Linked DNA regions of Homo sapiens: region 1 is linked to region 2. Evidence: promoter capture Hi-C in human tissues and cell types (Jung and others, 2019). All regions are on one chromosome and are shown on one strand. The core of a region is centred on a gene start or on the middle of the fragment in contact, and the rest is flanking DNA. Distances in the headings are between cores, read along the strand shown.

Region 1 (5,309 bases), core at 2,677-5,176, 1.0 Mb before region 2:
CAGGCTTTCTCTTTTCTTAGAGTGTCATTGTGGATTCATGGATGTAAATGGATTAGATGTATCCTAGTTAACTATGGGCCTCATTCTTTTGGATGCTCAGGTTGTCCCAGATTTCACCAATGCCACCTCTTTCAAACTGGCTCCTTGTCTTCTCGACAGGCCCCATTCGTCCTGGAGAGCCCCCTCACTTTCAGGCACAATGAAACGTTCTGGGACCCTTGTGCACGTTGGCTGTCCCCAACCAGAAATCTGCCATATCTCTATTAGAAACCAGGGTTTGTCTTGATTGTCACAATGTAACATTAAAATTGCCTGTTCTTGAAATACTGGAAATAAGGGGGAAGCTGCAAATAACCCTATCCCTATTAAAGAAATTAAAGTTGTACATAAAAACCTTCCCACAAAGAAAACCCCAAGACTACAGTAGCAGGAAAAAAAGATTCAGTAGGTACTTATGACAAAATTCTTAGCAAACCAGAAATAATGGGGACCTTCCACAACCTGATTAAATACATTTATAGAAAACTAACAACTAAAACTAAACTAAAAGTGACCCATACTTAGGGCCACTTTTGACACTTCTGTTCCATACTGTACTGGGGGTCCCAGCCAATGCAATAAGGCAAGAAAAGGAAACAGAGGGCATAAAAATCAGAAAGAAAGATGGGGGAGGGAGAGGAAAAAGAGAGGAAGAAAGCCATTATTTGCAAGCATGATTATGTGTTGAGAAAACCCTATGTAATCTACAAAACAAACTACTGAAAATGATTCAGTGAATCTAGTCAGGTTGCAGGATATCTGATCAAGTACAAAATTCAATTATCTTCCTATATTTCTATGAACAATTTAAAAATGAAATTGTTAAACAATTCCATATGCAATGGCATAAAAAGGCACCAAACCTGAAGAATAGAAGTAACGGAGCCCCAGCTAGACAGCAGCTGATGCCCCCCGAGAGGTCCCATGCAGCCATCCCCGGGCAGCTGTCCCAGGTGCCCACCCCCCACTCACCAAGAGCCCTGAAAATCAAGGGTCTGAGCCCAGGGGAGCAGACCCAGCTCATGACAACAAATGTACAAGGCCAAACGGAAGGCACCTGCTGCTTCTTGCCTCCCAGCCTGACAGACAGTTACACGTGGTGGGGCCAGTGAGAGGGAGGATGGGAGGAAAGAGGCAGGGAGTGAGGGGTAGTGAAGGGAAGGGAGGGAGGAAGCAGGTTGGCAGGGGAGGGGGAGCCAGTGAGAGGGAGGACGGGAGGAAGCAGGTGGGGGGGCAGCAAGAGGGAGAATGGGAGGAAGCAGGTGGGGGGTGCCAGTGAGAGGGAGGACGGGAGGAAGCAGGTGGGGGGGCAGCAAGAGGGAGAATGGGAGGAAGCAGGTGGGGGTGCCAGTGAGAGGGAGGATGGGAGGAAGCAGGTGGGGGGGCAGCAAGAGGGAGAATGGGAGGAAGCAGGTGGGGGGTGCCAGTGAGAGGGAGGACGGGAGGAAGCAGGTGGGGGGGCAGCAAGAGGGAGAATGGGAGGAAGCAGGTGGGGGTGCCAGTGAGAGGGAGGATGGGAGGAAGCAGGCGGCGGGGGGGGCAGTGAGGGGGAGGGAGGGAGGAAGTCCACCCCACCCTCCAGCCTGACCTGAGCTGTGGCTGCCTCTGAGAGGGCAGAAGGGCCGGCCTGCAGGCGATACGCCCCCTGACACCCACTGAGTGAGACCGAGGGCACCCCCACCTGAATCCCCTCTATGAAGCTTAATGAGCTTAAAGGAGCATCGGAGCTGGGGGAATGGTGGCCCCAAAAGACATGTCCCCCGAGAACCTGCGAGTGGGACCTCATGGAGAAAGGGTCTTTACTGATGTAATTAAGTTTAGGTTCTCCAGATAGAATCATGGTGGATTAGAGCGGTCCCTGCATCCAATGACAGGTGCCGTTATAAAGCAGAGAACACAGGGAGACGGATGCCGCGTGAAGAAGAACGGAGCCAGAGTGACGCATCCACAAGCAGAGGAGCACGAAGATGCAGCGAGCCCCAGCATGGCGGAGAGAGGCAGGAAACGCATCCCCCTCAGAGCCACCCCCAGTCTCCCCTCAGAGCCCCCACAGCCCCCTCAGAGCCACTGCATCCCCCTCAGAGCCTCCGGAGGGAACCGACCCCATCACCACTTTGTTTCAGACTTCAGGTCTCCAGAACCGTGAGACAGTATCCGCTGTTTTGAGCCATCCGGTTTGTGGTACCTTGTTAACCTTCTTCTACAACCCTAAAAAGCAAATACCAGCATGCACTATTTTAGATTTTAAAACCAGGATTATAAAAGAACCACAGAAACACAGGGAAAGGCGCGATTATCCAGTTTTCTCGGGCAGTCGCTCTGAAGAGGAAATGTTGGAGAGGAATTTGCACAACAGAAGTGGGTTACTGAAGGGCATTGAGGCAGCCTCCTTGGGGGGCGCGGGTGGTCTGGTGGGTGGGGGTGAGGGGCAAATGGCAGAGAGAGAGAGAGAGAGAGAGGTGGGCCCTGCCTGCATCCTTCACTTCAGGGGTTTGCCTTGGCCAAACAGCTAGTTCTAGCCAAGAAACTTGGGCAGGGGTGATGCAGTCCACTCCTGGCCCTGGCTCATAAGACCCTCGCAACAGCCTCCTCACTTTCCTCCCCGGCCGTGTACTGAACGGAGAGGACGCCAAACCAGAGGACGGCAGCGCCACAGGTGGAAGGGGCTGCTGGATCCCTGAGTGACAGTGTGGAGCCGAGCTCCCTGAGGACTTGCATCACAGCACAGCAGTGCTAAGATATGAGGTGTGCCTCACGGATGCACCTGCTGTGTGCATGGGCCTGGACAGCATCCTACAGAGATCATGAAGCCTCAAAAATGTCCTCACTGGGGCCACAAAGAGATCAACACTGGGCCTCAGGAAGAGCGGTGGTGCAGGTGCGGGGGATGCGTTGCTGTGGGCACAGATCTGCCGCACCGGGAAGGGCAGGGAGGCCACTGAAGCAGCCCAGGCAGGTCTGGATCCCGAGAAGCAGCCTCCTGTCAGGGGCTGTGGAGACCGGAGGAGGCTCCCTGATGCCTCCTCTTCGAAAGACGCTCTGCACCCATGTATTTGTGCTCAATAAGACCCATTTGTTGCACGCAAGCTGGCACAGCTCATAATTCAGGGGCAAAGGAATTGGAAGGACATTTCAGAAAATCTGTAAACAAAAGCAATTATTCTTTTGTGCAGTGGAAAGAAAACACAACCAGCCATTTTTCCTCATTCTCTGCAGTGTCCGTGAGTGTGGCAGCCAAGCCTCAAATGTACTTGCTTCTCAGATTCAGCTCAACCCCCTCCATCAACACAACCACCACAAAACTTGGTATTTTTCTCCTACAAACTTTGCCCAATTTTCCCTTTTCCATCTGAAAAACAAGACTCCAGGCCACGTTCACTATGAGATTACTTAATGACTCTCTGTTGGCCCCGAGGTCTGCCACCTGCCCCCACCGCACTCCCCAAGGAGGAGGCCTGACAAACTCATTCATAGCGAGGCAGAGGACACGGTGATGCAGAAGAACATAAAAGCTGACGCTGGGGCTTTCCCAGGTCCCTGGAGACTGAGGCTACAGGGCGAATGTGCAGTGAAGGGCTCTGGGGTTCCAAAAGCTGTGGGGGGCTTCTGTGGCACAGCCCCTGTGGAGACTCAGGCACCTTCCTGGAGGCAGACCCAGAGCAAAGCTCTGCCTTAATCCTCCAAGATCTTTCTCAGGCCAACTCCAGTTCAACAAGGGACCTGACTTCTAGTTCACGGGGTTGTCCTGAGTGTTACAGAGAACGCGCATGTGAAAGAGAGGTGGAGTGCACACGTGCAAACAACATGCCCTGCACCCCGCAGCAGCCAGGTCTGTGCAGAGAAGCCTGGAGGACAACGTGGCTGGCATGGGCTGCTCCCAAGATGATAGACAGATGGACTGGAGCCAGGACCCTCACAGAGTATTTAGGGGGGTGGTGGCTGCACGGACAGCAGCTCTTCCAATACAACTCGGAGGCTTCATTTCTGCCTCACATGGGGTTTTGTTGCATCTCTCTGAAGGTCCTCTCGTTAAAGACCAGCACCCGCGTAACCCGTCCACAGCCTGCAGCCCTGCACAGAGGCTCAGACTCCTCGAAACCCCAGATGCTCCCCACCACCCGAGCTCCCACCTGCTGTAGGCAGTTAAACCACTCAAACTTCACTTACAGGATTATCCAGCTGAACACCCAGGCTGTACTGCTTAAGGGCTGCAGCCTTGAAAGACACACTCAAAATTACAGCCTCAGAAAGCACGCACTGCAGGGAAAGGCACTCAATAGAACATGCTGAGTGGTGCAATCCACCCTGGGGCCCCCAGAGGAGTCTGCATTTCTCTCCCCGTGAGCTCTTTAATGGTGCACACACAGCACCCAGCACGGAGGGGCTAATTGATTAGCTGTCTCTGCAGCACATGCTGCTGGCGCCATGGCTCACAGCAATTCCACGCTTACACTCACAGCCTGTTTCTCTGCTGTTGGAGCTCTGGTGGGCTGCAGGCTTCACTGCCACAACACACGGGACCCGGTGTCCACCTGCCACCTCCCCACCTGGGGCGCCTCTGGGCTGCTAGGCTGGTAAGAGGTCACCCCTGCCGTGACAGGGTAGCCAGTGCTGGACCTGCGTTCCTCCAGCAAATGGCTGTGAAACTGGACAAATACAGGGCCACTGTGATGGAGCCAACTGTGAGCCATGCTTCCCACCCTCCCCCTCCCACTCTGCCACCATAGGAGGCAGAGCTCGGGGAAACAAGGGCGCAGTGAGAGGAGGGCATAGCACCAGGGCTGGGGTTGGCCTGGGACAACAGAGAAGGAGCTGTGTGGATGCCGGACAGGGGAGATGGGGAGGAAAGTGACCATGGCTCACAGCGGCCTCAACCTCCTGGGCTCCAGGGATCCCCCTGCCTCAGCCTCCCGAGCAGCTGAAACTACAGGTGCACACCACCATGCTCGGCTAGTTTGCTTTCTTTTTAATAGACGAGGTATCACTGTGTTTCCGAAAGCAGTCTCGAACTCCTAAGTTCAAGCAATCCTCCTGCCTCTGCCTCCTAAAATTTGGGCATCACAAACATGAGCCACCACACCCAACTGACAGTTAATTTCTTAAAAAGTTAACTTTAATTTATTCAAAAGATTGTCTAAAGCAAAAGTAGCATTGTGTTACGGAGTTTGTAATGTAGGTAGAGGTTAAACATATGGCAACTGTAACAGGAAGAACAGGGTTAGAGGAATTACACCGTTACAAGTTTCCCACATTTTGTGTGAGGTGAATAG
Region 2 (5,207 bases), core at 69-2,568:
GCTGTTCAGGGCCAGGTTGTGGGAGGGGAAGAACCTGCGGCCAAGGGGACAGAATGGGGAAAAGGGAAGCCATATACCACAGGCATCTGAGCCTGCGTGCCCTGATGTCCACTTGGGGTCCTGGCCTCTGCCGACCCTGGGTCCCCTTGAAAAGTTTGTGGACTTGGGGTTGGGACCCTCTTGGCTGTTGCGGTCGCGTATTAACCAGCATGGCCATTGTGGAGCTCACCAAGCTGATGTCCCTCAATGCCACAATCAATCATTAAACCCAGGGCACACTCCTGCTCCTGTGTCTCTCCCAGAAAAGTGTACTCCGGAGGCGAATACTCTGCCCATACCTCCATATTTTGTGTATCACATCAAGATTCCAGAAGGAAGGCTGCTGAGATTTGAGGGGAGGCTTCAGCTTCTGAAACCCCACCCTGTCACAAAGCAGAGCTGGTGCCTGGGGCCCTGGACAGCGGCCGGGGCTCTCAGGAGTGTGTGCTGGGACCAGAGGCTTCCCTGTAGTTCCGTCCTGCACATGCTCCAGAAACAGCTCAAGGAGACTGGGGGGATCGGGGCACCTGTGCTGCTCCCAGCCCTATCAGAGTCAGGCCTCATGAGTGCCCGACACCGCCTGGAGGAGGCAGTGGGCTGGCAGGAGGTTCGTGCGCACAGGGCCACAAGGTGGGTAAGCGCTCACCCAGGAACGGGGGCTGCCAGCTTCAAACAGAGGGAGGCCAGGGAGGCCTTGAAGGATGGATCCAGGGCCATCCCCACCTGGGCCTCTCCCTTACCTATGCGCTCCCCGATGTCCACGGCTCGCTGCCCCCAAATGCCATTGGCCCCAACCAGGAAGGAGTCCCCAGGCTCCAGCACATTGACCAGGGCGGCCTCCAGGGCACAGTGTCCCGAGCCAGAGATGACCAGTGTGAGTGGGTTCCTGGTCTGGAACACGTACTGGATGCCTTCCTTGATCTCGTCCATGATCTGCATGCGGGTGGTATAGGGTGAGACCCAGGCTCCCCGCCTCCCCAAGTGAGGAGGCAGTGACCCCCTTCCCTCGTCCACGATCTGTGGGTGGGAACATGGGTGAGACCCAGGCCCCCCGAGTGACCCCCACTCCTACCTGGTACATATCCTTGCTCATGGACCCGATCATCTGCAGCCCCCCGGCTGCCATGATGCGAGGAGGCAGGTTGGAAGGACCAGGCCCCAGCAGGAGCTGGTTGGGGATGGAGAGGGGCTTGAGCAGGGCCTTGGGGGGGGTCACCAGCAGCTTGTGAGAGGCCATGGTCCGCACCCAACCTGCCGCTCGGGAACCTGGGGCTGCACTGGCCTTGGCCAAAGCCTGGAATATTTCCCAGCAGGGCGGACACAGAGGTGAGAGGTGAGGATTGGTGGATGGGCTTCCGTGGCAGCCCTGCCTTTTGTTCCCTGAGGCTTATCTGTGCTTGTGCTGCGGGTCACGGCCAGGCAGCAGGGGACGAAGCCCTCAGGCAGAGGGAGCCCCCAGGGCTGAGTGACAGAAAAACAGAGTGTGACAAAGCTGTCCTCACCCCAGCCCTCCTCGCTCCCACTCTGAGTCCTGCACGTCCAGCCCCTCTTATTCTGCTTAGCTCAGGGGTGAGAGAAGTGTTTCTTAAAGGGTCGGAGCACAGATAATTGAGGCTTGGCAGGCCCTGTGGTCTATGTTGCAACAACTCAACCCTGCTGCGTGCTTGCAAAGCAGCTGCCAGAGGTGTGGGCGTGTTCCTATAAAACTTTATTTACAAAAAGCAGGTGGCAGGCCAGATTGGGCCCATGGACTGTGGTTTGCTGACCCTGGCGCAGCTGATGGGAAGGCTTGTAAACCAAAAATAAAATTCGAAGGCCCCCCAGCAACCATCTGAATGGGGTTCCCTGTCCGCCAGGGTGCTCTAAACTTTAACCCGGAAGACGTTCAGGCCATGCCACATCATAACCCCCAGCATTAACATCGACATAGACCTTAAGTCTGATAGGAAGCATTTACCATCTATTTTCTCTCTAAATCCCGCTACCTGAAGGCATCATCTGCTCCCTGCAACCCCTATTTCATAACCCAGACACTCCTTTCTGCTGATAATAATTCTTCAGTCAGTTGCCAATCAAAATATGTTTAAATCTACCTATGACCTGGAAGCCCCCCAATTCAAGTTGTCCCGCCCTTCCAGATGGAACCAATGTAAATCTCCCATGTATTGATTGATGCCTCATATCTCCCTAAAATGTATAAAAGCAAGCTGTGCCCCGACCACCTTGGGCCCTTGTGGTCAGGGGTGCACCCTTGAGCTTGGCAAGGATGTCCTCCCTCCTGAGGCTGTACCACGGGTGCATCCTTAGCCTTGGCAACAAAAACTTTCTAAATTAATTGAGACCTGTTTGAGGTACTTTTTGGTTTACAGGCTCAATTTAGCAAGCAAACCTGCATGGTATACAGACACACACAAGGCAGGGGTTGCACAGTGAGTTTCAGCATGCTGCATTCCAGAGATGTATAGAAATTCTAGTTATGTATAAGTTTTAGGTTGAAAAGAGGCCTGGAACCAGGTGCCAACTTTAGATAATAGGGAAGTCTAATTCATTCTACATTTCTCAAATAAAGAGGCTCCCCTCCACCCACCCCACCTGGGGCCTGCTTGATGGTCTCCAGGTGATCTTTGCTGTCCTCATTTTCCCTCTGACAAATATCTTGGTGAAATCTTTGACCCTTCCTTTTCTGCCATGCTCATGTCCACCTGCTTCCTGTTGGGGTCTCAAGAAAGGGGAAACGGCACAGTGAAGAGGGGTGTCCAGTGCGCCTGACTACTTGCTGCTGAAAGGGAGTTCAGGGGGGTAGGTCACGTTTTTCCCTTTCTTGCTCTCGGTCATGAAGGGAATAAAGGGTCATGAAAACTTGTGCACGGAGGCACGTGATGGGATTCCATCAAGAAGCCCCACGTAAATGGGAGCTGCAGTTGCAGGCCGGTATTTCCATCAAGAAGCCCCATGTAAATCGAGCTGCAGTTGCAGGCCAGTGTTGGGAATGCATAGCCTTCTGCAGGTGGAATTGTTCTCATGTAGAACATAGAAAAGCAATCAGAGCATTAAAAAGGCAGGGACCAAATATTAAAAGAAAAATGACAGAAGATAAAGGTCTAAGGAATGGGGGAAGCCAAGTGATTTTTTGAAAACCAATCAGTAAAAGTTTTGGCCCAGTCTTGGTTGCTTTGGGAAAGTGTGTGTAGCCATTTGGCTTGTTTGATGATTTCTTGGGCATCGGTTTCCACTTCTCCAGACACATAAATGTAGGTGCAACGGGTCCTGTTGATGACAGCACAGACCCCTCCTTGTTCAGCTAGGAGGTAATCCAGAACTCACCTGTTACCAGACACCAAAATCCTGCTTGTGAGTCTAATGACTTGTAGAGCTGATAGATGGGTGCCAGCTTTTGCTATTTCAAGGGAGGCGGTAGGTTCTCTTACTTGTGATTTCCTGGTAAGTAAAACCTCCCCAAGGGGTAAGAGTTGTGATAGTTCCCACAACTCCGGCCACAGTAAGTCCCAGGGCCCTTTTCCTTCTAGAAGGGAATTCTGAATTAGAAGTGATGTTTAAGACAGTGATTTGGGTGGGAGCTATTGTTCCCAGGCTACAATCACCATAGTGAAGAGAATGATCAAGGTGGGATAGGGCCAAAGCTTGAAAAGGGTTTAAATAGTTTTTAGTGGGGCTGCTAAGCCATAAGAGCCCAGGAGGGGCAGGATGATTATTTTAATTAAAATGTTGGGAAAAAAGGAAATGGGCCTTTTGACAGTTTTAAGAGGACTCATATGGGGGAAAGACTATGTTTATGTACTGATGGAGGAGGTTTAAAAGCAGGCGGGTGCCAGTGCATGGCATAGGATGTAAACCAGGTGGCACGGTGGTTATTTCCTGCACTGGTTGCATCATTATAGTAACATACATGAAGGTATTAGGAGTGCAGGGGTGCTGTATACTGGGAGCCCCACTATACTGGTCCAGTTTAACGGCTTATAAATTGGCAGTGATGAGATAGAGTCAGATTTTTTTTTTTTTTTTTTTTGAGATGGAGTCTCACTCAGTTGCCCAGGCTGGAGTGAAGTGGTGTGACCTTGGCTCACTGCAACCTCTGCTCCTGGGTTCAAGCGATTCTCCTGCCTCAGCCTCCTGAGTAGCTGGGATTACAGGCACCTGCCACCACGCCCTGCTAATTTTTGTATTTTTAGTAGAGACAGGGTTTCACCATGTTGGTCAGACTGGTCTCGAACTCCTGACCTCAGGTGATCCACCCACCTCTACCTCCCAAAGTGTTAGGATTACAGGTGTGAGCCAGCGCACCTGGCCAGAGTCAGAGTTTTGATTGTAGGAGGCGAAGGCCTCAAATGAGTCAAAGTTAGCTGCATGAGTGTCATTATAACAAGGTGTACCTCCCAAAATAACATTACAAGTTAAGGAAGTTTCAGTGATATTGTAAGTGTGGATGGTGGGGGAAGTAATATGATAGCACGAAGAGGGAGGTGGTTTCCAATTTACCAGCACAGAAGGAAATGGTCGGGGTGGGAAGGAGTGGTGAGAAGAATAATGAAATCCCAACAGTACAGTTTGATTGGAGACAGGGTGTGCTTACGAAGAAGAATCTACATGGCTTGGAGTAGCAGGTTGTGGACGGCAAAGCCAGCCACACAGAGTATTTTCTCCTCTCACAATAGCATGTGAGATGCTGAAGATGATATTGTCAAACCAAGAGGATTGGGAAGTTTTTATATGAGAGATAAAGAGAAAAACATGAAAGAAAGAAAAAAGGAGTCTCATTGTTCTAATTCAAGGACTGTTACAAAAGTTGCTCCAAGTATAATTAGAAAAACCACCCTGCAAATAAAAATCTAGTGCAAGCTGAATAATTGTATGTGGGTCTTGAGAAATGGGGATTGGATAAAGAGACAGTAAATTGGCTGGGTGTGGTGGCTCATGCCTGTAATTCCAGCACTTTGGGAGGCTGAGACGGGCGGATCACCTGAGGTCAGAAGTGTGAGAACAGCCTGGCCAACATGGTGAAACCCTGTCTCTACTAAAAATACAAAAAAAAAAAAAAAAAAAAAAAAATAGCCGGGCATGGTGGTGCATGCCTGTAATCCCAGCTACTCAGGAGGTTGAGGCGGGAGAATCACTTGAACCCGGGAGATGGCGGTTGCAGTGAGCCGAGA

What was found. The method cuts DNA at HindIII sites, captures the fragments that hold promoters and counts their contacts. A contact is called where the count stands out against the background at its distance.
Region 1: a fragment that was not itself captured here is called in contact with the fragment with the promoter of AGXT in region 2 in 1 of the 25 tissues and cell types used here (lymphoblastoid cells).

The regions. Positions count from the first base shown.
Region 1 is chr2:241,884,682-241,889,990 of GRCh38, reverse strand. The region is part of intron 2 of LINC01237 (long intergenic non-protein coding RNA 1237); the gene reads right to left. Among named protein-coding and RNA genes, the nearest start is that of LINC01237, 6.0 kb to the right of the region's middle. The HindIII fragment of the contact is 9,878 bases long and covers 1-5,309 here.
Region 2 is chr2:240,864,935-240,870,141 of GRCh38, reverse strand. AGXT (alanine--glyoxylate aminotransferase) reads right to left here and starts at 1,318. Exons shown (of 11, transcript NM_000030.3): 1 at 1,112-1,318; 2 at 780-972. The coding sequence starts at 1,276. RefSeq lists an enhancer at 1,299-1,799. The HindIII fragment of the contact is 24,692 bases long and covers 1-5,207 here.